7 separate regions of the Homo sapiens genome follow, and regions 2, 3, 4, 5, 6 and 7 are each linked to region 1. Evidence: promoter capture Hi-C in 16 types of primary human blood cells and fetal thymus (Javierre and others, 2016). All regions are on one chromosome and are shown on one strand. The core of a region is centred on a gene start or on the middle of the fragment in contact, and the rest is flanking DNA. Distances in the headings are between cores, read along the strand shown. Region 1 holds the start of RAB32 (RAB32, member RAS oncogene family). Region 2 overlaps ADGB (androglobin). Region 3 overlaps ADGB (androglobin). Region 4 overlaps GRM1 (glutamate metabotropic receptor 1). Region 5 overlaps ADGB (androglobin). Region 6 overlaps ADGB (androglobin). Region 7 overlaps ADGB (androglobin).

Evidence for each region. Contacts are between HindIII fragments. The CHiCAGO score rates a contact against its expected background, and 5 or more counts as called.
Region 2: a fragment that was not itself captured here is called in contact with the fragment with the promoter of RAB32 in region 1 in 1 of 17 cell types (fetal thymus); the score reaches 5.1 in fetal thymus.
Region 3: a contact is called between a fragment that was not itself captured here and the fragment with the promoter of RAB32 in region 1, in 1 of 17 cell types (megakaryocytes). The highest score is 5.8, in megakaryocytes.
Region 4: a fragment that was not itself captured here is called in contact with the fragment with the promoter of RAB32 in region 1 in 1 of 17 cell types (M1 macrophages); the score reaches 5.1 in M1 macrophages.
Region 5: a contact is called between a fragment that was not itself captured here and the fragment with the promoter of RAB32 in region 1, in 2 of 17 cell types (neutrophils and megakaryocytes). The highest score is 6.4, in neutrophils.
Region 6: a fragment that was not itself captured here is called in contact with the fragment with the promoter of RAB32 in region 1 in 2 of 17 cell types (neutrophils and monocytes); the score reaches 7.2 in neutrophils.
Region 7: a fragment that was not itself captured here is called in contact with the fragment with the promoter of RAB32 in region 1 in 7 of 17 cell types (monocytes, megakaryocytes, neutrophils and 4 more); the score reaches 17.3 in monocytes.

The regions. Positions count from the first base shown.
Region 1 is chr6:146,542,196-146,545,646 of GRCh38, forward strand. RAB32 (RAB32, member RAS oncogene family) reads left to right here and starts at 1,638. Exons shown (of 3, transcript NM_006834.5): 1 at 1,638-1,926. The coding sequence starts at 1,677. RefSeq lists a silencer at 1,212-1,591. The HindIII fragment of the contact is 5,944 bases long and covers 1-2,499 here.
Region 2 is chr6:146,788,696-146,792,146 of GRCh38, forward strand. All of the region lies in intron 33 of ADGB (androglobin), which reads left to right. Among named protein-coding and RNA genes, the nearest start is that of ADGB, 190 kb to the left of the region's middle. The HindIII fragment of the contact is 5,555 bases long and covers 1-3,451 here.
Region 3 is chr6:146,762,112-146,765,562 of GRCh38, forward strand. ADGB (androglobin) reads left to right here. Exons shown (of 36, transcript NM_024694.4): 28 at 1,790-1,989. The region is part of intron 1 of LOC105378040 (a long non-coding RNA gene); the gene reads right to left. Among named protein-coding and RNA genes, the nearest start is that of ADGB, 160 kb to the left of the region's middle. The HindIII fragment of the contact is 2,607 bases long and covers 649-3,255 here.
Region 4 is chr6:146,339,185-146,342,635 of GRCh38, forward strand. The region is part of intron 3 of GRM1 (glutamate metabotropic receptor 1); the gene reads left to right. It also overlaps the pseudogene RNA5SP222. Among named protein-coding and RNA genes, the nearest start is that of RAB32, 200 kb to the right of the region's middle. The HindIII fragment of the contact is 1,595 bases long and covers 970-2,564 here.
Region 5 is chr6:146,732,868-146,736,318 of GRCh38, forward strand. It overlaps ADGB (androglobin), which reads left to right. Exons shown (of 36, transcript NM_024694.4): 21 at 253-388; 22 at 1,026-1,163. It overlaps LOC105378040 (a long non-coding RNA gene), which reads right to left. Exons shown (of 4, transcript XR_943093.2): 3 at 2,430-2,481. Among named protein-coding and RNA genes, the nearest start is that of ADGB, 140 kb to the left of the region's middle. The HindIII fragment of the contact is 3,821 bases long and covers 1-3,451 here.
Region 6 is chr6:146,715,536-146,718,986 of GRCh38, forward strand. It overlaps ADGB (androglobin), which reads left to right. Exons shown (of 36, transcript NM_024694.4): 15 at 1,348-1,534; 16 at 2,001-2,064. Among named protein-coding and RNA genes, the nearest start is that of ADGB, 120 kb to the left of the region's middle. The HindIII fragment of the contact is 4,096 bases long and covers 1-3,451 here.
Region 7 is chr6:146,693,908-146,697,358 of GRCh38, forward strand. The region is part of intron 12 of ADGB (androglobin); the gene reads left to right. Among named protein-coding and RNA genes, the nearest start is that of ADGB, 97 kb to the left of the region's middle. The HindIII fragment of the contact is 5,580 bases long and covers 1-3,451 here.

The sequences.
Region 1 (3,451 bases), core at 388-2,887:
TTGTACACTTTGACCTGCATCATTCCGTTTCTTCCCTGCCCCTGGTAACCACCACTGTTTCCACGTATTCCGTGTGTGTGTGTGTGTGTGTGTGTGTGTTTAAGATTCCACATATAAGTGATATTGCACAGTATCTTTCTTTTTGTGTCTGGCTTATTTCGCTTAGCATAATGTCCTCCAGGTTTATCCATGTTGTTGCAAATGTCAGGATCGCCTTCTAAAGGCTGAATGATATTCCATTGTGTGTGTGTGTGCGTCTGTGTATATGCGCGCGTGCATGCCTATGTATGTATTACAATTTCTTTATCCATTCATCGTTAACAGACACTTTGGTTGTTTCCAAATCTTCGCAACTGTGAATAATGCTGCATGAACTTGAGAGCGATTTCTGAGATCCTGATTTCATTTCCTTTGAGTATACACCCAGAAGAGGGATAGCTGGGTCACTGGCTTTAGCAACGATTTTTGCAATATCACACCAAAAGCCCAGGCAACCAAAGCAAACCTAGATAAATGGGACTTCATCCAACTAAAATGCTTCTGCACCGCATAGGAAATAATCAACAAAATGAAAAAACAGCCTATAGATTGGGAGAAAATATTTGTGAGCCATATATCTGATAAGGGGTTAATATCCAAAATACATTACGTTCACAGAACTCAGCCAAAATAAATAAATAAAACACCCAGTTAACTAACGGGCAAAGGATGTGAATGGACTTTTTTTTTTTTTCCAGAGGAAGTACAAATTGCCAACAGGTATAAGAAAAGGCGCTCAAAATCACTAATGAACAGGGAAAAGCCACTAGGTATCTCCTCACACCTGCTAGGATGACTGTTATAAAAAAGATAAGCGATAATAAGTGTCGGTGATGTGCGGAGCAAAGGGAACCTTGTACACTGGTGGTGGGAATGCGGACTGGAACAGCCATTATGGAAAACCCTACGGAGGTTCACTCAAAAAGTTAAAAACAGAACTACCAGCCCAGTGTTATCCGTCCTTCGTTAAGTTCAAAGTCACGGTGCCACTTCCTTTCCCATCTAAAGGGGACTGCTCGCGACCCAAGCCAAGGCCCGCAAGTGTGGCTCTCCCTGCGGGGAGAGTAGGGCAGGAGGTGGATTTCCAGGCCAGAGGCTTCCAGGCTGGGCCCGGACCCCACGCCGACCCCGGCCCCGGGGGGGGCTCAGCGACCTCGGCGCCTCCTCAGGCCCCCAGTGAACCTCCGGGGCCCATAAAGGCTCCAGGCCGGCTCCCCGGAGGCCCACCAGCGGGCGTCTGGGCCTCCCTCCGCGCCGCGACCGCCAGGAGGCGCCGCCCGGGAGAGGAAGTCCAGCTGGGCCCGGCCGGGCTTCGGAGGCGCCGCCCGGGAGAGGAAGTCCAGTTGGGCCCGGCCGGGCTTCAGAGGCGCAGGGCGGGAGCCGCCTCGCGCAGGGTCCTCCCCAAGCCGGCGCCAGGCCCTGCCCTCGTCCGGCCCTGCCCTCGTCTGGCCCCGCCCGGGCCGCGAGCACTGGCGGGTTCTGGGTCCTGTGACCGGTCAGGCGGCGTCAGCGGGCGCGGCGGAGGGCTGGCCGGCCTCGGGGGAGTTTCCGCGGCCGCCGGGGGCGCGGCGGCAGAGCGCGAGGCCGGGCAGGGGGCCAGACTCGGAGTCGAGGCGCGCCCGACAGCCGCAGCGCTCATGGCGGGCGGAGGAGCCGGGGACCCCGGCCTGGGGGCGGCCGCCGCCCCAGCGCCCGAGACCCGCGAGCACCTCTTCAAGGTGCTGGTGATCGGCGAGCTTGGCGTGGGCAAGACCAGCATCATCAAGCGCTACGTCCACCAGCTCTTCTCCCAGCACTACCGGGCCACCATCGGGGTGGACTTCGCCCTCAAGGTCCTCAACTGGGACAGCAGGACTCTGGTGCGCCTGCAGCTGTGGGACATCGCGGGTAAGCGCGGCCGCGAGTTTCCCACTCCAGAGCCCCGCCGGGCCGCCTGGCTCCTCTCTGCTTCTTTTCTTTTTCTTTTCTGCCTGAACTCGTCTGCCTGGGTACCTTTAGGAGAAGAGAGAGGCCCAATCCAAGGGCGAGATGCGATGGACGCGGTCGGCTGGACTCGGTGGGGCCCAGAGGATGGGATGGGCAGTAGGAGTTGGAGCAGGTCCTGCACGCCAGAGCTCGCTCTCCTGAAGGGAGGCGAGGAGGCCAGGGGGCCTTTTCCAGAAGTTTGAACTCTGAATAATGCAAGTATATCATACATACACCAGGACTAGTTGAGAAGGCTGCTTTGGAGCGGGCCGGCGCCTCTCAGCCTCAACTCAAGTTCAGAGGGATTGGGTGACTTAACCCGAAGCTGCACTCCTAGTTAGTGACACCACCAAGACCAAAAGCCAGGTTCCTTTCCAGATCATTTTCCACCACCCGCCTTGGCTCTGAGACTGGCCTTTGTGAGGGAAACTCCATTCCTCAAATACTTTGCTCTCATCGGAAGCCGAGGACAGACACTCCGTGAAGATTTGGGAAAGCTTTTCTGAAACCTTACACTCACCCCTTCCTCTCTTGCTAAACCAACACCTAGTCCCATCCCTGGTGCCCTCGCCCCCCCCCGCCCCCCCCCCACTCCTCAATACAGTGTTTCTCTGCCATTTGCTTTCATTTGTTCTGTTTGAGGGGGTACATTTCCCTCTGCTCTGATTTATGAACACTTGAACTTTGCCTGGTGTGGTGGTTGGGAGTGGGCGTTTTAAAGATGATGTTAACTATTGGAAAGTTCATAGAAATGGTACCAAGCCAAGTGCCAGTGGCTCACGCCTGTAATCCCAGCACTTTGGAAGGCCTAGACTGGAGGATCGCATGAGCACAGGAGTTCGAGACCAGCCTGGGCTGTTAGTGAGACCCTGTCTCTACAAAATACATACATACATATATACATACATACATACAAAAAATTAGACAAGTGTGGTCGTGCGTGCCTGTAGTCCCAGCTACTCAGGAGCCTGAGGCAGGAGGATCACTTGACCCTAGGAGAGGTCAAGGCTTCAGTGAGCTGTGTTCTCACTGCTGTACTCCAGCCTGGTCAACAGAGTGAGACCCTATCTCAGAAAAAAAAAAAAAAAGTACGAAAATTACTCTGTTCAATCATTACAGGTGTTAAGAAGCACAGTCTGCAGTACAGCATTAGAATGGGAGCTGGTTTAGGGTTAGAGGACACCTGAGGCCACCCTTCATTCTACAGTCCCTACACTGAAGCCCATGGAGGGTATAGCTACCTGGCTGGTAGCAGAGTGGTTGGGGGGATCACAGGTCTACTGTCTGTCTGCCAGGTAGTGCTCTTGTCATTTATAGCTTGTTACATAAGAAAGAGTAGTAAATAATTGTAACCTATAACTCATTCATTTAAGAGCACATTTCTGTCCCTCAGACAGGAGAATAACTGTATGCAACTCAGTTGCTCAGAAAAAAGGAGTAATCAGCC
Region 2 (3,451 bases), core at 293-2,792, 250 kb after region 1:
CTAGGGCTATAGAAGTAGAAAAGATGTCTTTCCGATATATAGATTTTCATTTTACTTAATGGAGTTGGGAATTTGCTCAAGGACCTGACTACTAAATATTAACCAAAAGACAAAAGTGGGCAAAAGCCCCCCTACAGATTTGCAGGTGTATTTTTTCTGTGTATAGGTTTTCTGTGTCTACAAATGCTAGAAATAAAATGTCAGCATTCACACATACACTTCTCGTTAAACACAGATTTTTTTGTGTTATCTGTAGTATGCTACAAGATAGATTTCCTTTTTACCTTTCATAGCAAATTTTAAGAATGTCATTTTTTAAATGTTGAAAAAGAGCAATTTTCAGTGGTGCACAAGTCACCCTGACCTGATTCATTTCTATATGGATTCATATCTGTTCACTAAACTGAACTAAAACCCTGATCAAAGGAAAATGCCTTTCCACACTCCTGGTTTCCATGAATTCCTAAGCAACTCCTCAACTCCTTCTGTCTTAAAGGGAACTAAATGTCCTATTAATGCATTTGGAGAGAATGAATGAGGCTGCCCATGGAAGCACTGCTTCTCTCTCAGGTGTGAGCACTACCTAGACTGTGCTGGAACAGTCAGTCAGCTTCAGGTGATCATGGCCCATTTGTCTCTCACATCAAGCTACATCCTCCGATTAAACCTGGATCAATAGTATAATCTTACTCTATTTTTCTACTTGTTTTGAACCCAGACAGCAAAGAAAGAAATCTTAGAAAGAAGCATTCTCAGAAAAGCCAACAATGGTTCTTTTCTCAAAATTGCTAAACAATTCTGAGAATTTTTAAATTAAGAAGTGTTTAAAGCTAAAGTATGTCCTTAAGTGATTTCCATACTGAGAGGAAAATTCTAAAATTAAAAGGAATCTTTTACTATACTAACAAGAGATTCTGATATTTTTTAACCAATATTTTGAAAGTACATGCCCATTCAATAGGTAATAGCTCACATGATGGTAGCAGTAAAACTCATTAGAACACATTTCATTTACCATTAATATTTAATTTGTAGAGTAATTTTTCCACTCTTATCTCACTTGAGATTCCAGGAATTAGAGAAAGCATATATTGCTATCTCCACTTCTAAAATGACAGAATTGGCAAATAACTCACCCAAGGGCAGGAAACTGATGCAGTTTGGCTAGAACCTGGACTTACACCCAGCTCTTTGGTCTCCATATATTGTGATCTTGAACTGAACACAAACTTTTCCTCATCCTTAGTTAATTTAAAGATCTATAAAATAGAAAAATGTAGCCAAAACAATGCAACTTAAATTCTGATATCAAATTATTTACTTATGTGCTAACAAAGTAATCCTTTTTGAAATTTCATTTTTAATTAACAAATAATTATATATATTTATGGGGTACAATGGGATGTTTTGATACATGTATAGGTTATGGAATGATCAAATTAGGCTAATAAATATATTCATTACCTCAAATACTTATTATTTCCTTGGAGTGAGATCATTTAATATCCACTCTTTGAGCTATTTTGAAACATCCAATAAATTGTTAGCTGTGTTCACCAAGCTATGCAATAGAACACCAGAACCTATTCCTGCTAGCTAACTGAAACTAACTATACCCTTTGACCAACATTTTCCCTTTCCTTGTCCACTACACTATGACCCCCCAGCCTCTGGTAACCACCATCCTAATATCTATATCTACAAGTTCAACATTTTTAGATTCCACATATAAATGAGATCATGCCGCATTTGTCTCTCTGTGGCTGGCTTTTTTACTTAGCATCTTGTCCTCCAGGTTTGTCCATAATGTGGCAAATGACAGAATTTTCTGTTTGTTAAAGGCTGAAGAGCATTCCATTGTGTCTACATACCACATTTTAAAAAATCCATTCCTCTACTGATGCGTACTTTGGTCCTTTCAACATATTGGCTGTTGTGAATAACGTAATGCACATACAAGTACAGACACCTCTTTTACGTACTTATTTTAATTCCTTTGGATATATACCCACAGGCAGGATTGCTGGATCATGTGGTAATTCTACTTTTAGTTTCTTGAATAACCTCCATACTGGTGTTTCAAATGGCTTGTAATAATTCCCAGTACCACCAAAGTGTACCTGAGTTCCCTTTTATTCACACTCTCACCAATGCTTGTTATCTCTCATCTTTTTTTATAATAGCCAATGTAACAGGTATGAGGTAGTATCTCATTGTGGTTTTAACGTGCATTTTTCTGATGACTGGAGATGTTAATCATCTTTTTATATATGTGTGGGTCATTTGTGTCTCTTCTTTTGAGTAATATCTATTCAGGTTCTTTACCCATTTTTTAATGTAGTTATTTGCTTTCTTATTATTGAGTAGCTTAAGTTCCTTGTATGTATTGAATATTAGCCTCTTATCCAATGTATGGTTTGCAAATATTTTATCTCAACCCATGGTTGACTCATCACTTTTCATTGTTTCATTTGCACAGCAAAGGTTTTTAGTTTGGTACAGTCCCACTTGTCTATTTTTACTTTTGTTTCTGTGCTCTTAGGATCATATTCAAAGAAAATATTGCCCACACTGATATCATGGGCTGTTTCTCCTGTTTTTCTTCTAGTAGTTTTATACTTTCTGGACTTATGTTTAAGTTTTTAATCTATTTTTAGTTGATCATTTTTGGTTTTTGTTTTATTTTTAGAAAGGTTGGAGTATAGTGGCTCAATCATGGCTCGCTGCAGCCTCAACCTCCCAGACTCAAGTGATCTGCCCACCTCAGTCTCCTGAGTAGCTGAGACTATAAGCGCATGCCACCATTTCTGGTGAATATTTTATTTTTTATAGAGATGAGGTCTCACTATGTTGCCCAGGCTAGTCTCAAATTTATGGGCTCAAGGAATCCTCCAGCCTCAGCCTCCTAAAGTTCTGGGTTTACAGGCATGAGCCACCCTGGCCTAAGCTGATTCTTATATAAGGGTCCATTTTATTTCTTTTGTATGTGAATATCAGGTTTTCCAAACACCGTTTATTGAAGAGATTTCCCTTTCCCATTGTGTGTTCTGTTCCATTTGTTTTCAGTTTAGTTTTTATTTTGAGACAGGGCCTTGCTCAGTCACCCGAACTGGAGTTCAGTGGCACAATAACAGCTCATTGCAGCCTCAACCTCCTGGGCTCAAGCAGTTCTCCACCTCAGCTTCCTAAGTAGCTGAGACTACAGGCATGTGCCACTGCACCTTGCTTTTTTTTTTTTTTTTTTTTTTAATTTTTGTAGAGATGCAGTCTTACCATATTGCCCTGGCTGTTCTTGAATTCCTGGGCTCAAGCTATGCTCCCACCTTGGCCTCCCAAAGTGCTAGGATGACAGGCGTGAGCCACCACACTCAGCCTCTATTCCATTTGTTGATGTGTCTGTTTTTATGCCAGTACCATGTTGTTTTGATTAGTGTAGCTTTGTAATATGTTT
Region 3 (3,451 bases), core at 702-3,201, 220 kb after region 1:
TCAAATAAGGTCACATTCTAAGTTATTGGGTGGACATATTTTTTTGGGGGGGTCACTATTTCACTTCCCACAATATCGTACCATGAATCACTTATCCTCTTTTGAAGTTTTTTCACTCTGTGGTTCTATTTCAATCATTTCTATTGCTTGTATTCAAGTTTACTAATCTTTTCTTCTGAATTTGACAAAATGTTGTTCAAGTCTATCCAGATATTTTTTATTTCAGATATAGTCAGATCTGGAATTTCATTTTGATTCTTCATATATTTCATTTTTCTGTGATACTCACCATTTGTTCACTCAGTATGTTCATCTTTTTCCATAAATCCTTAAGCACATTTTAAATAGCTATTTTAAAGTCCTTGTTTGATGAGTCCAACATTTTTATCAGCTTCATATCTATTTCTATTGACTATTTTCTCAAGTTATGGTCACATTTTCTGCTTCTTCATCTATCAAATTGATTGTGTGCTGTATATTGTGCGTGCTACACTGCTAAGAGTCTAGATTATGCTCTTTTAATTGAAAGAGTGTTGAATCTTGTTCTGGCGGGCAGTTAATTTATTGGCAGCTTGATCCTGGTCCTGAGCTTAGTAAGTCAGTTCTAGAGTTGCCATGACTCTAGTGTTAGGGTAGCTCTACTCTTAAAGCTTGGCCTTTCTTGGGTCTCAACTGAATGCTCTGCATATTCACTGAATTCCCTTCATTTTGACAAGTCAGAATTTCAATGTCTCTCAACACTGTGGAACTACCAGAATCTTCATTAAGCTCACAGCCCCCCAGTAGTTATTGTCTGCCTGGTATTGTTGAGTGTTTGCACAAATGAAGTTTAGAATTCAGCTAAAGACTCAAGTGGACACCATGTCTATTTCTGAGCTCCTTAACTGCTCATATACTCCCTTCTGGTATCCTACCTCAAATTTTACTTGTTGCAGGAGCCCCACTCACCCATCTTTGTTTCCTAAACCTAGCAGCACTGCTGTTCACTACTTTGGGCTGTACTTCCCTGTATACAGTTGGGAAGGTGCTTGCAGGCAGAAATCTCTGGAAATCAAGAGGTCACTTTGTATGTTTCCCTTGTCTCAAGGATCACAATCCTGGGCTGTATATTTTCCGGTGGCTAAAAATAGTTGCTTTATACGTTTTGTCCATTTTTATCATTTTTTGTGGTACGAGAATAAGCCCAATGTCATGGCTGGAATTAGAATATCCCTGTGTCAGTCACTTATGTTTTTTCAATACATGTTTGATGAATTAATTAATAACATTCAACATATTTCCATTTTTAAACCTATCAGCAGTACTTATATGATCTGTTAATTAGAAAATAATTGAAAATAAAAATTCTTCACCACATTTCCATTTTTAAACCTATCAGCAGTACTTATATGATCTGTTAATTAGAAAATAATTAAAAATTGAAAATTAAAGAGAAAGTCTTTTATAAGTGTGATAACATACATATGTGGCATTAAACACAGAAAATCAGTGTCTGGCGTTAGCTTAGGGTCATTCAAGTGGCACAAAATAAATGAGAAATTGTTGAACTGTTGTATATACTTTTAGAAATAAGTGGTTACTCAGAATATACATTGCTCTGTGCATGTCACATACTATTATAATAGATTTCCTTAAGAACAATAAACCAAAAACACTGTTTTTTATCTCACTAAAACAAAAGAATTGACCTATTCCTTTGAGTGTTTTATAAAGGAATGTAACTGATTTAGTCAGTAATAACTATGTATATCACATATTTTAACTTTAACTTAGTATTTCTCCTATTCAGCTAGCAAGCACATTCTTTCATTTCACTCTGCATCCAAGAAAGAGCAAGAAGTGTATGTTAAGAAGAAAGCTGCTCAGGGAATTCAGAAATCCCCCAAGGGTAGAGCTGTAAGTGCAATACAAGACATTGGTCTACCCCTTGTGGAGGAGGAAACTACCAGTACACCCACTAGAGAAGACAGTTCCAGCACACCACTGCAGGTATATTAAAAACAATTGTTCAATTGGACTGTTCCTAAAACCCTAACATAAAACAAAACAATCATTTCCCTAAAAATAGTCAATATACAGTGTGCAGTGCTGCCAATGTATAGCCAGAATTGGAGAATAAGAGAGTCTTGAACAGTTTCTCTGTGCCAAGATCTTTAAATACATCTTGGCACAGAGATGTATTTAATATGTACATGAATACATCTTGGCAAATTTAATATGTACATGAACTCTATAATGTACCTGTAATTATCTAATTTTATAGTTGGGTTATAAGAAGCTATATAACTTTGTGGGTCACATATTAATAAATGTCACATATTAAAGGTCATATATTAATAAAACTTAATTTGTATGTGCTTACAATTAAAGGGAAAAAAGATAATGTACATATTTATAAAACAGCAGACAAAGGTATGACCTAGCCATTGGAAACCAAAAAGTAAAATAAGTTTAAATTAAATTAAAGGAATAGAAAAGAAAATGCCAGAAATAAATGTTAATATCACAGAAATTACAATAAATCCAAATAGATCAAATTAATCAACTAAAATGCTAAAATTTTAAAGTTATATAAAAATAAGATCTAACTATTTTAAACAAACTGCTGTAGAAAGTTTCATGATAGAATGTTAGAAAAACATACCTGGCAAATATGAACCAAGAGAGAGCTGTGATGATAGTGTTTTGTTTGTTTGTTTGTTTTTTGAGATGGAGTTTTGCACTGTTGCCCAGGCTGGAGTGCAATGGCGTGATCTCGGCTCACTGCAACCTCTGCCTCCTGGGTTCAAGCGATTCTCCTGCCTCAGCCTCCTGAGTAACTGGGATTTCAGGTGCCTGCCACCACACCTGACTAATTTTCTGTATTTTTAGTAGAGACAGGGTTTCACCATGTTGGCCAGGCTGGTCTTGAATGCCTGACCTCATGATCCACCTGCCGTGGCCTCCCAAAGAGCTGGGATTACAGGTGCGAGCCACCGTGCCTGGCCTGATGATAGTTTTAATACATATAGAAACATTATATAAAAATAAAAGGTAGAATAAATCAAGTAGACATGGCCATAACTAACATATAGGCACCTAATTATCTAGACACAATAAATAAAAAGCAATAACTATTAGAACTACAGAGATAAAAAGATAAGTAAATCATGAATAATTGAAGATTTTTAACCCATGCCTCGTGGAAACTGACAGTTCAAGCTGAAAAACTAAGTAAATAGAATTGTGAGAATTTGAAAAAAAAATCTAAATATAAGCTTAATCATTTAGATATCTATATGGAACACTTTACCCAATAAACAGAGAATATACTTTTTTGGCACACATGAGATTTTTTTAAAATATCATGTAATAGACAATAAATGGAAGCCTCAATAAAATCCAAACTATCCCTATCATATAGTATGTTATCTGAACTTAATGCAATAAAATAGAAACTAATAATTAACAA
Region 4 (3,451 bases), core at 517-3,016, 200 kb before region 1:
TAGAAGCAAGTAAAAATTCCTATTATATCAGGTGCTGACATTTTCATCCCATCAAATAACTGAATGGACATGAGCATTCAACAATTCCCTTCCACCCAAACTCAATTCACAACCTTAACATGGAACATAATTTTTGCTCTATGTTTAAGGGACTTGAAGAACATCTCATAGTTTCAGACTAAAATAATAATCTGAACTTTTCCCTTTCATTTTTTCCATTTATACACACTCATTTTATTTCCACAGACATTAAGAGCTCTGAATTTGACTAATATACTAAATAGACACCTCATTTATATTACAGCTTTTATTCAATAATCTTGAGTGATAGCTTATAGTCATCATATCAGGTTTTCTTTTGAATATTCTTAAATGTATTGTAGTCACCATCAATAATAATCATGCTTCAGTTAGATCATCATCCTATTGCTGAGTTATCAGTCATTCACTATAAGAATAATTGAGATAATATGAAAGACAATTGTCTAAATAACTTATTACTGCATGAAAATAAGCAAAGTGCGCTGATATCACAGAGTCTACTCTGACAATACAAAGAAGGTTTTGCAAATTGGTGGCAGGAATAGGGGAAGTGCTGTGCTGGATTTCTGGCAGCACGCTAGCCCTCAGCTATCCTTTCCCTTAACATCATAAGCTACGTTGGGCTTCTGTAACTTGTACCACCATAACATTCCACTGTGGGAAGCCAGGGACCATGGAAACCCATTAAACTGCAACATCCCTTGGCACACAAAATAGGCTTTTCCTCCTTAATGAACACAGTTTGAAAACAATCCACCAAGGAATTTTGTATGCTGTTTCAGTTTACATTAGCAGTTGCAGACGTACCTGGTGACTATGACTCAGCAGTCGTTGAGGCATAAGGAAATCATTTCTGCCTTCACTTTAGATTCTGTGAGCTTTCAGGGGGCACTACTGAAAAATCAATGCCAGGTATGTACTTAGAGAAGCTTCTGTTAATGGTTTTCCTGTTGACCTAGCCCATAGAAGAATCTGTCATATTTAATTAGTGTGGCAGTATCATGCTGATCAATCTTTTCCCTGGTTTTTCTTTCTTAACTATTTCTGAGCATATACAGAATTAATACACCTATCTTGGTACTAGTGCCCATTTTTCAGCAAACTAGTCTCTGCAATGACTTTCTTGTCCCTTGTTGAAGGGTAATCTCTGCTGCTGCATTTTTGTTTTTGTTTCTAGCTGTGTAAGAAATTAGTGCAAGGGCCATACCACCCTGAATGCTCCCGATCTCGTCTGATCTCAGAAGCTAGACAGAGTCAGGCATGGTTAGTACTTGGATGAGAGAAATCAGAGCATGGGACCAAAGCCATATTTCTTTTTTTTGTTTTTTGTTTTTTTTGAGACAAAGTCTCACTCTGTTGCCCAAGCTGGAGTGCAGTGGTATGATATCAGCTCACTGCAACCTCCACCTCCCGGGTTCAAGCGATTCTCCTGCCTCAGCCTCCCAAGCAGCTGGGACTACAGGCATGCACCACTACACCCAGCTAATTTTTGTATATTTATTAGAGACAGGGTTTCAGTATGTTGGCCAGGCTGGTCTTGAACTCCTGACCTCGTGATCTGCCTGCCTCAGCCTCCCAAAGTGCTGGGATTGCAGGCGTGAGCCACCGCGCCCTGCCCCAAAGCCACATTTCTAACCTCACTCGTAGCTTAGCATGTCCTCTTATTGAGAAGGTTGCCTCTTTCTGTGTTCAGTTCAGTTGGAGGATGCTACAAAACAACAGGCCCCAAAATAGTAGGGTCCTCTGAATGCACACATTCTAGTATTTAACCCAAAGCATGTGCAAACCCACATGCATGCACACACATGGTGAGAGAGTTCTGCTGTACTACCACTGCATTTTGTACCCAGAACCAGGACTGCCCTCAACTAACACAGGCTTTGGTGTAAATCTAGTACCTCAGTCTAGATTCTTCCTTTATGTTGAGTTAAAGGTATCCATTGCTCATTCCTTCAATCTAGCCTTGGTTAGGTATGACTAACTATGGTCTATTTTTCCTGTTTTCTTGGTTTTGGTTAGAAAAACCAAGTGGTTAGCAGTATGTTAAGATTTCTGTCTCCCTCCCTCTCTCTAGAATTGGCTCCTTGTTTATGCAGTTTTGAGAATCAAATACATACAGCGAAGCGGTAGAGGGACCACTCCTATTTCATCTAAATTCCAAGCTCTAGTTGAAGATGTTTTTCTTGTAATATTATAAAATAATATACTTTTGGCATAAAAATGAACATGGAATAAGTGTAGACAAATAAGCACCTGACCACGTTTGTGTTTGTCTCATATATTCTCATCTCAAAATAACTAGAAACCATCAGGGAGAATCTTGATATGTTGCCCAATTAGTATTTTGGTAGGACTGAATCCCACGATGAAGACATCATCCGAAAAGGGAATAACACATGACTCTCTAGAAAGCAAAGTTCCCCAAAGCACTAAGAAAGTTCCACAGTCAACAGAAACATTGGCCCAGAGATGCTAAACTCCGTATGTTCCTCAATCACATTTCTGATGAGTGTGTTTTGGTAAGCTTGTGCAAGGTCACTTTGCAAAGACCTAACCCCAACGGTGCAGCCAGTCTTAACGAGAAGCCTTATAGGCATGGGCGCTGCTTCTCTGAGACAATTCCTTGTGGCACCTTAGAGCTTCTTTAAAGTTTGTTATCATTATTTGGGCTCTAAACTAATATTAACAACCATGACTGTATGCCTGCCTCAAGGGCCACTCATTTAATTAGAGTCTTAAGTTAACCTTTTTTGTGTATTTACCCCTAGAAGAGAAGGTGCACTTGAAACTTTTTAAGTGCATGAACAATGACTATGTCAGAAGAAATGACCATGTAACAGTCTGGGAACTCAGACAAAACCTTAGGGAATCAGTTAATAGTTTATTGTGGCGGTGTTGGTCTGAGGGTTTTAGAATCTATAATACTGACTTTTAGTGGTGAGCTTCTTTCCAAATTAGTTTTGCCTGTTGATTTTTAACCTCCTCTATGCAGTGATGAACAAAGCATCTATATAAAGAGCTATGCAAAAATTTGGTCTCTGTATTAACATCATTCATGTGAAATAAATCATGGCAACATTACATGTGATAAAATGTGGAAGGTCTCTTTATAGATTATATATTGTCTGCAATCAGGGACAAATTTTATTTTGTACACACAAACATTTGTTAATATTGTGACAAATATCACATCTTCCCATTAGCTTGCTGAGTGTAATGTTACTCTGGGACAGTAACTAAGCAAGAGACAGAAGTATCTTGTACTTAAGAGTAAGAGTTGCAGAGTCAGGCAGGCTGGGTGTTAATCTAGTGACCTCCACATCCACATCCAGCTGTGTGATCTTGGACAAGTTATTTGACCCACTAGTCTTTAGATTGTTCATCAATAAGTTGAGGTTAGTCCTATCAA
Region 5 (3,451 bases), core at 435-2,934, 190 kb after region 1:
TTAATGCTGTATTTTCATTGAGTCTATATTATAAACGTTGTAGTGATTACATTTTGTTAAATTAGAAATAATCAAATGATAATTTTGGTCTCTTACTGGGCAGGTGAGACTTCAAAGAATCTTCTGTTAGGTTGCGTGTACATCTGAGAAATGGTTTTTATTTTTTATTTTTAGAGTATCTAAAAATTTTTTAGAGCTTCTCTGGCCAGATGATGGTATTTTCTTGCTATAAAAAAAATTTATGTGTTTCAGGTTTTTCATCTTTCCTTATGGCGTTTAATGAAAAAAGTTCAAATAACAAAACCTCCTCCAAACTTCAAATTTGCATTCCGGGCTATGGTTTTGGACTTGGAGTTACTCAATTCCTCCTTGGAAGAGGTTTCTTTAGGTACCCATGAATTGTATATATTTAATCAAGGAATTCCTAGTTTTAAGTAAGGTAAATAATTTAAGAAATGTGTTTGTGGAGTAAGTGGAATAAGTCTGTGTGGACTGTCATGGAGTTCAAGCAGTGCTCTAAGAGCTCAAGGGGCTCCAAGGACCTGCTGGGGATCCCCTACCCCTAATCCCCACCACATATACTTCTAGGGGAGTGTCTTACAGGGGAGAATTTCCCTGTTTTATTTACTCCTAACCTTAAAAATATGGAAGTCACTAATCTATATGGTTTGATTTGAAGAATTCTGGCAAGATCCTCTGACTCAAGTAACCCTACTTTTCTCTCTTCTTCCCATGCTCTGCTCTCATCATTTTAACATGTCTTTTATTTTTGAGAAAAATCTCTGGCTATATTCACACAGGAATCAATAGTAGTTCACCAATATGTCCCTATTTTGTGTGTTTTCCCTCCTGCAGAATATTTACATTCTAACAAGAACCACCTAGAGCCGGCAATATTAAATATGATGCTAACTCTTGCAATGTAGAATTTTATATGTTGGAGGGCTTTGGCAGCTGAAGGCGTTGAAACTTAGGGAAGGGATTAAATATAACTTTCAGTCCAAAGTTTGTTTTTCCCTTTCCAGTGGAATGGCTGGACGTTAAATATTGTATGCCCACAAGTGATAAAGAGTATTCTGCTGAGGAAGTAGCAGCAGCAATTAAAATTCAAGCCATGTGGAGAGGAACTTACGTTAGATTGCTTATGAAAGCCAGAATACCAGGTATGATTGTCCAAACATTTATAAAATGAACTTGTTTGTATAAGAATAAATATTTATGTGTGTTAATGAAAGTATTTTGGAGTCCCCCACTTTATGGCTAATTAATTTCAGTCCTCTAAATAATGAAATTATTTGAAATCAGGAAGCATGTCCAATGCACCAAGTGTCTTGTTCCCAGGATTGGCACAGTGCCTGGTGCATCATAAGCACACAATAAATACTTGCTGAAAGAATGAGTGAAAAAATGAATGCATTATCAGCTTTGTTTTCCCAATCTATTGCAAGTTCTTTTAAAACAGGGAACTGGTCTTTTTCTGTATATATCCCAAGTAGCTAGCACCTGTGCTACCTCAGTCAGCCTCAGCTAAGTCATAGATATTTTCACATTTCCAGATGATTTTTCAAACAAATGAGTGAATAATTAAGTGAATGAATAAACTAATGCATAATAAAGAAGCCACTATGTATGTCCATAGTGACACACATCTAGAAGGCATAAAATGCATGTTAAGTGTGTTCTTAAATTTATTAAATCAGATACATCTATGTATATGAAATAAAATCTTTTTGCCAATAGGCCAGTTTTATCAGCTTAAAATAAAACATGGCAGATGCAAAACTTATATTCAAGCACTTTGGGAGGCTGAGGGGGGCAGATTGCTTGAGCTCTGGAGTTCAACACCAGCCTGGGCAACATGGGGAAACCATGTCTCTACAAAAAATATAAAAATTAGCCAGGCATGGTGGCATGTGCCTGTAGTCCCAGCTACTTGGAAGGCAGAGGTGGGAGGATTACTTGAACCCAGGAGGTGGTGGTTGCAGCGAGCCTGAGCCAAGATCACACCACTGCACTCTAGCCTGGGCGACAGGGTGAGATCTTGTCTCAAAAAAACAAAAAACAAAAAATATATATTCAATTATTTTCATTCTGTGGTTTTTGCTGACATTTTGATAGGAGAAGCCTTACCTCCAATAGAATTCTTTACATATATTGAAAAACTTTCTTGTAAAAAAAAAAGAATCTATTTAAAACATTTAATGATAATATTTAAAATGTTTAAGCAGTAAAAACGTCAGATACACAATGGTTTAAAAACCCTAAATTACATAGTTTAATGATAGTTGTCTAATTCAATGGGTTTTTTCCTCATTACAAAACATATGCATTCGTCAAACTCAATATAGGATGTCTTGCTTCATTTTGTGCTGCTATAATGGAATACCAAAGACTGGGTTATTTATAAAGAACAGAGATGTATTTCTTACAGTTCTGAAGGCTGGAAAATCCAAAATCAAGGGGTTTGCATCTGGACAGAGCCTTTATCCCATGAGGAAGGTGGCAGGGCGAGAGAGCACATTCATGAAAGAGAGAGAGAGAGATAAAGGAGGGATAGAGAGAGCCAGAACTCATCTTTTTATCAGGAAGCCACTTCTGAGATAACTAACACACTCTTTCGATAATCACATTAATTCATTCATAAGGGCATAGCCCTCATGAGCTAATCACCTCTTAAAGGTTCCACTTCTCAATGCTGTTACTTTGGGAATTAAGTTTCTAACACATAAAGTTAGGGAAATATATTCAAACCATGCATATGGTAAAATATGCTTTTATTGTCCATATATGTTGTAAAAATTTACATATAATGATTTTACTTCCCTTTTTAGAGACTGAAAATATGGGCAATTTAGTAATGTACTTCATAGAGTTTGTGTTCAACTATTCAAAATGTTTTTTAAATGGTGTTTGCATTTTTTTCACTCAACATATATTTATTGAATAACTCTTGATTGCATGGCAATGTTACATATTTTGGCCTTATAGCAGTCAATGAAACAGACAAGGTTTCTACTCTGATGAATCTTGTATTCTAGTGAGAGTAAGCATATAATAGACAAGTAAATATATGAAGATATCAATTTCAGATGCTGGTAAATACTATGAAGAAATTAAGATAGGATAATTAGAAAAAGAATGTTAGTTTCTGATACAGTAAATTTGAGGCTGTTAATAAGGATTCACATTTTCTTGGCAAATTATCTACTTTTAAACCATTTGCAGATAATGCAGTAGATTGAGATCTAATAAAATCCTATTAGCCATTTTTCTTTACAAAAATTGGATGGATTACTTTTTCTGAGATAAGATCTGTCACAAAAAAAGTTTTAGTGTGACAGAGGTCTCCTTATGTAAACACTTTGATGACTATCTTAAATTAGGTCAAGCAATATTCTAAAACTTTAAATTAAAGATGAAGGGAAACAGCATAACACGGTGAGCAGAGCTC
Region 6 (3,451 bases), core at 434-2,933, 170 kb after region 1:
TTGCTGAGTCTAGTCTGCTCTGGGCTTTAAAAAAAGAGATAATTTCAATTGTTAAATTGAAGCTAAAAATAAAAATGAAAGAGAATCTGATTACCCACAAATAAAGTTCATGTGTTTTAATGCTGCACCCTGTGATCGAAACACTAAAACCACTGCAAATTCCTTAGTTCCTAAATAAAAGACTTGGCCAAGAATTGAATTCAAAATTATATATATATTTTTGGATCCAGAAGTCTTTAAGAATGCTATGCCGGCCAGGTGCAGTGGCTCACGCATGTAATCTCAGCACTTTGGGAGGCTGAGGCGGGCAGATCACGAAGTCAGTAGATCGAGACCATCCTGGCCAACATGGTGAAACCCTGTCTCTACTAAAAATATAAAAATTAGCAGGGCATGGTGGTGTGTGCCTGTAATCCCAGCTACTTGGGAGGCTGAGGCAGGAGAATCTCTTGAACCAGGGAGTCAGAGGTTGCAGTGAGCCAAGATCGTGCCACTGCACTCCAGCCTGGACTCCGTCTCAAAAAAAAAAAAAAAAAAATGGTATGCCACATTACTTGGTAAATATAAAATAAGGCTCTAGAACCACTGACTGTGGGGAGTGATTAAATGTGTTACTGAAACACATTTGTTGCACCAGATCTTTCAAGTTTTCATTTCCCTTTCTGTTGTCTGAGCCACCCCCTCCTATAAGAATATGTCCATCTAGAGCAGATTTTCAGTAAAGAATCTAGCTAATTTGTGTTGTAACTTCACAATCTCTAAAGAATCTGTGAGGGCCGGGCGCGGTGGCTCACGCCTGTAATCCCAGCACTTTGGGAGGCCGAGGCGGGTGGATCATGAGGTCAGGAGATCGAGACCATCCTGGCTAACAAGGTGAAACCCCGTCTCTACTAAAAATACAAAAAAAATTAGCCGGGCGCGGTGGCGGGCGCCTGTAGTCCCAGCTACTCGGGAGGCTGAGGCAGGAGAATGGCGTGAACCCGGGAAGCGGAGCTTGCAGTGAGCCGAGATTGCGCCACTGCAGTCCGCAGTCCCACCTGGGCGACAGAGCGAGACTCCGTCTCAAAAAAAAAAAAAAAAAAAAAAAAAAGAATCTGTGAACAAATTCGTCAAAGTAATTCTGAAATTTTTGAACACCCTGATATGCATAGAAATTGTGATTAAATTCTCCTTTGTGTATGAAATGTGTCCCTGTGTGGACCTCCATAAATGTATGAAGCCTGGATTATCTCATAAATATTTTCCCAAAAATAGACTTTGATATTTAAGTTTCCCTTTATCATTTTACATATTTCAATAACTTGTTATTTAACAATATAAGATGTGTTTGACATGTGTGTCTTCTAGGCACAGATGAACAAACAGACTTTGGATTGGGTGATGCTCATCAGAGTGATGGATTAAACTTGGAAAGAGAGATAGTCAGCCAGACCACAGCAACACAGGAAAAGTCACAGGAAGAACTTCCAACAACAAATAATAGTGTTTCTAAAGAAATATGGTTAGATTTTGAAGATTTCTGTGTATGCTTTCAGTAAGTATACCAATGGGATCAATCTGACTATGTCGTAGTGGTTAAACCCTGAGCTGCATTAGTATACAAAGTCACATTAAGATTTATTTTTGCATATTTAATATAGTGGTTATATAACCTATTAATTCTTAGCATCATCCAAAATAAGCCAATAACAGCCTAGTGTTGGTATAATATCAAATAAAATTTATAAAATGGAAAATAAATATATTGATTATCCATATAACACATTAATAGCCAAACCAATCTTAGGCCAGTTGCAGCTTTTCCTCAAAGGCTTGTTTCTTAATTAAAATGAAGAAATCTTATTCACTAGAATCATTCTTGTCCCTTTAGGGCAACTGACCCAATACTGTTGTTATTTTTTAACTTTCTTCCTACAATAATTTGATTATAAGAAACTTAACATGTAGTACTAGTCTTTGCCTATAATGACAATAACCTGTTAAAAATGTCTTTCTTTCAGAAATATATATATTTTCCACAAGCCAAGTTCATATTGCCTTAACTTTCAAAAATCAGAATTTAAGGTAAGTATGTTAGAATCTTTTCTATTCTCTTTAAATTTTTGGTAGAATTGCACCCGTAGAAAACATCTTCAAATTTCTCAAAACATTTCTAAACTTGTAACATAGTTATATTTTTAAAAATTAATTTTTAGAGTCTCTCACTAATCCTTATCCAAGCAATAAGCAAAATTCCACTAGCTCATAACCACAAATGTGATCCATCTGACTATGTTGAATCCTGGCCTGAATTATTATACAAATTCACATTAAGAAAAATTTGAATTATGAAAAAATGAAGGACATGCACAAATAAATTCACTAGATTTGGTTTCAATTAGTATTTATTGAATAGTGTATGTTTCCTAAAACATAAGGACACTCCACCATTATGCCTGCATTTTTTCCCCCGTATCATCCCTCTGCCAGGAGTTTCTGTCCTTTCATCCCTGTTATCCTCATTGCTGTTGTTCAGCTAATGCCTAGAAATCCTTCAGAATAGCACAGATGCCCTTGACACTGTGAGGCTTCCCTTCCCTGGCCATGGAATCTGGGTTAAGAGTCTCAGCTTCACCAGCCTGACCAACATGGTGAAACCCCATCTCTGCTAAAAATACAAAAATTAGCCAGGTGTGGTGGCATGCGCCTGTAATCTCAGCTACTCAGGAGGCTGAGGCAGGAGAATCGCTTGAACCTGGGAGGCAGAGGTTGCAGTGAGCCGAGATTGCGCCACTGCACTCCAGCCTGGGCAACAGAGTGAGATTCCATCTCAAAAAAAAAAAAAAAAAAAAAGGCTCAGCTTCATGTCCTCTGTATGCTCTATGTTTGCCTGGCATTTGCCTCCCACCCTCCCAACTTTCTGATTGCTTCCCTGTGCCCATTCTTCCCCCTACTTACTGTTAGCATCTTTAGAAGAGCTGTATCTTTTTGTTTACCACTTATAAGAACATTCCTGCCATGAGGTAGGAACTCAATTTAAAAATTGTGGATTAAAGTAATTAACAAACCACATATTGAGCAGAATTTTAAGAAAAACTATGACACATATTCCGGGAAACTAAACTGTACCAACATTTACATGTTGTCCTGTCATAGGACAAGGCCACCCAAGCCCCTAATGATAATCCCACACCTCCATGAGCAGTACGCAGAGTTGGAGGAAGTAAAGAGTCCTTGAAACTTTTCCATTGCCCTTGTAACAGATGAAAACGGGCAGAGAAAACCTTTTGAGCAGACCTCAAGAGCTGCTTTGTTGCTGGCTGCCTCCTCTGAAAATAAGAATAGTGACTGGGGGAAAGAAATCCTTCACCTAGTCCTGGAGTATGTGAAAACACCTAGAGGAATACTTTGACTTTATAGAGATAACACAACAATTAATTGGGAATAGTTTAACCCAGAGTATGATATCAGC
Region 7 (3,451 bases), core at 302-2,801, 150 kb after region 1:
TTTCCATTTGAGACCTCATCAAAATGGCCTTTACTATCCATATTTCTACCAGAATTTAGTTCACAGACACGTATATATTTTCTAAGAAGATTGAGGCTTTCTCTATAGCTCTCTTCTTTCCTTTTTGGGCCCTTTCCAGAATCATCTTTAAAGGTCCGTTCATGGCAATGTAGGCTTTCTTTAGCATGTACCTCCAAACTCTTCCAGCCTTTATTACCCAGTTCCAAAGCTGCTTCCACATTTTAGGTAGTTACCATAGCAGCAATCCCACTTGCTAGCATTCATGTTCTGTCTTAGCCTGTTTGGGCTGCTATAACAAAATACCATAGACTTGTGGCTTGTAAATAACAAAAAATTTATCTCTCATACTTCTAGAGGCTGGGAAGTCCAAGAACTGCACGCCAGCAGAGTCAATTTCTGGCAAGGGTCTGCTTCCTCATGCATGGCATCTTACCACTGTGTACTCACCTAGTGGAAGGGGTGAATGAGCTCTCTGGGGTACCTTTTACAAGGACACTAATGCCATGCATGCAGGTTGAGTCACCTCCCAAAGGCCTCACCTCTTAATACCATTATTTCAGGGTTTAGGATCTCAACATATAAATTTGATGGCAGAAGTATATACACACCTTCAGACCATAGCACCTTCCTTCCCCTTCATCTAGCAAGTAGTGTGTTCTGTTGATGTGTTTTGTAAATTCATCCAGTTCTTCCCCTAAAATGAATAATATATAAAACTCCTAAAATAATACATTGCAGCTTTTTTAGCTCCCTATCTACATGAAAAATCTTCAAATATTTGACAACAATTATATATGCACCACTCCATTCTCTTATTATTAGGTTTCTAGATGTGTAAAAAAATACTGTGTAAGTTATTTTCCAGTCCCACTGGACATTTCAGTTACAAAAGCCAGTGGAATTTCTATTCTTATTAAAGCTACTATGAATTAGCCTTCTGTCACTTGGACACAAGCAGTCCTAACTGATACTGCAATATAATAGAAATGCAATGCAATGTTATCAACAGTGTCATTAATTTAGTCAAAATTTGGGCTAAATTAACCACTTGTAATATACACATTATTAATATATTAAATAATGTCTTTCCTTCTTAAGTAGAGCATACTCAAAGCCTTCCTTGCTTCCTGGATGAATCATACTTAGCATTATTACTATACTGTCTTCTAACAGAGGGACCTCAAGGACTTTGAGGAACAATGACCCTAACATTCAATGACCTGAGACTACTGGCTTTTCCGGGGCTTTGTTTCAGTGATTGGCTTAGTTGTAGTTTTAATTTTGCTTTCATAGTACTAATGATGTCTTTATCAGTTCTTAATATTGTCTGCTTCCAATAGCCTTCCCTTCTCCAAATTTGTTTGTAATTTTCTGGGTGTAATGAGTAACATCACCAAATTTTTAGAATTAGTTAACGTTGCTTTGTATATACTTATAATAAAGACATTAACAGTTAGCATATGGGCTTTGTATCTACACTGTAACAATTGGATATTTAACATAGTAACTTGGAAATCATAGGCATTAAGTAAATCATAGGTATTAAGTAAATATTAATTGAATTGATTAAAATATTAAAATATTTTGAAGCACCTAAGTTATTCAGTATTTAAAATTATGTTCTTTCCTGTATGGTAGGCACTAGGCACATGGGGCTATGTAAAATTTTTTAAGTTAATTAATATTATATAAAATTAAAAATTAATTTCCTTAGTTGCATTAGCAACATTTTAAGTTCTCAGTAGTCAAATGTTCTAAGTGAACATTTTCATCATTGCATAAGTTTCTTCTAAATATTAAAAGGAATGAACAAGTGACCTGTCCATAATTGTAGCATTTTACTATAACAGTATTATATTATTTTTAGTTTTTATTATTTTAACCCATATTACTATTCATAGATTAAAATGAAAAGCTCATTCATTCATATAATGCAACATAACTAAGTGGCATTTTCTTTGCCCTATTGAGAAGACCAGTTGAATGTAATTGTCCTAATAGTTAAAGCATTTCAACTTCAACCTTTTAAATCAATTTTATTTAATAAATAAAAATGTATGCTTTCATGACAAATATACTAAAATTTGTGTCATTGCAGTGATTATACAAAAGCAATATTTCTTAAGTTCCCTTTTATAGTAAGAAATACTTTTTTTTTTTTTTCCCGAGATGGAGTCTGCTCTGCTGCCCAGGCTAGAGTGCAGTGGAGCAATCTTGGCTCACTGCAACCTCTGCCTTCCAGGTTCAAGTGATTCTCCTGCATCAGCCTCCCAAGTAGCTGGGATTGCAGGTGTGTGCCACCACACCCGGCTAATTTTTGTATTTTTTGTAGAGATGGGGTTTCACCATGTTGGCCAGGCTGGTCTCTATCTCCTGACCTCAGGTGATCCACCCACCTTGGCCTCCCAAAGTGCTGGGATTACAGGTGTGAGCCACAGTGCCCAGCCAGAAATACTTATTTTAAGATAAATTTTGAATTGGTTGAAATAAGGCCTACTTCAAATGTTCTTTAGCATCATAAAACTTAAAAAAATAAATTAAATGAGCCCCCTTATTCCAAGGATATTTAAATAAAGTATTGAGGGGACACAGAGGATTAACTAGAAAGGGCACTGTTTTTGTGAGGAAAAATGTATTAATTAATCAATGAAAACTCTGACTGTAAAAATAAAGTGATATGAAAATATTATATGTAAAACAAAGATACTATTGAAAAATGCCCTCACTTTTCTCTTTCACATTGTTTGTTTTACTGCTTTGGTGAGATGTCAAAGCTGCTCAAATTATGTTCCTAAAAGGAGTAGACAATGTAAGAGTGCAAGCTGGTGAGAGATTAAAGGTGGTGATAAGAAACTGGGATATTGCCTGGAGACAGAAGAGAGCCAGAGAGGCTTGGTGTATTTCATATTTAGAAGTACTCTAATTTTTTTTCTTGTTTCTAGTAATTATGCTGATGGGAAAATCTGTCTGTCTTTACAGATTTGGCTACTGTTTTAGAACAACAAAAAAGCATCTTACCTACTTTAATCATTAGCACTGATGAATATTTTCGGTTATTACCAGCTAATTAAATTACAAGATTAAATGATTGTCATAGAAATGTGGAAAACTGGGTGTGTCACTCATAGGGAAAAAAAAGACTAACTAAATACAACAGCAAAGACAATGAAGAACAATGAAGAGAAAGGGGGAAGGAGGAGGAAGAGGAACCCACACTCACTAATATTTGAACATCACAATAGGGATAGAAAGAAAGACTGTAAAGCTGGGTCTGAAGTTTTTATTGAATCAGAAGTGACCATGAACTTCACAAATAGCAATAACTGGTGTATTGGGTGATATGAGTGCAGGGTATGATGGTTGCCGTTAAAATTGTGGTAATTTTTAATGCAGCAATAGGTGGCTAATACATGGTTATACACATATATCA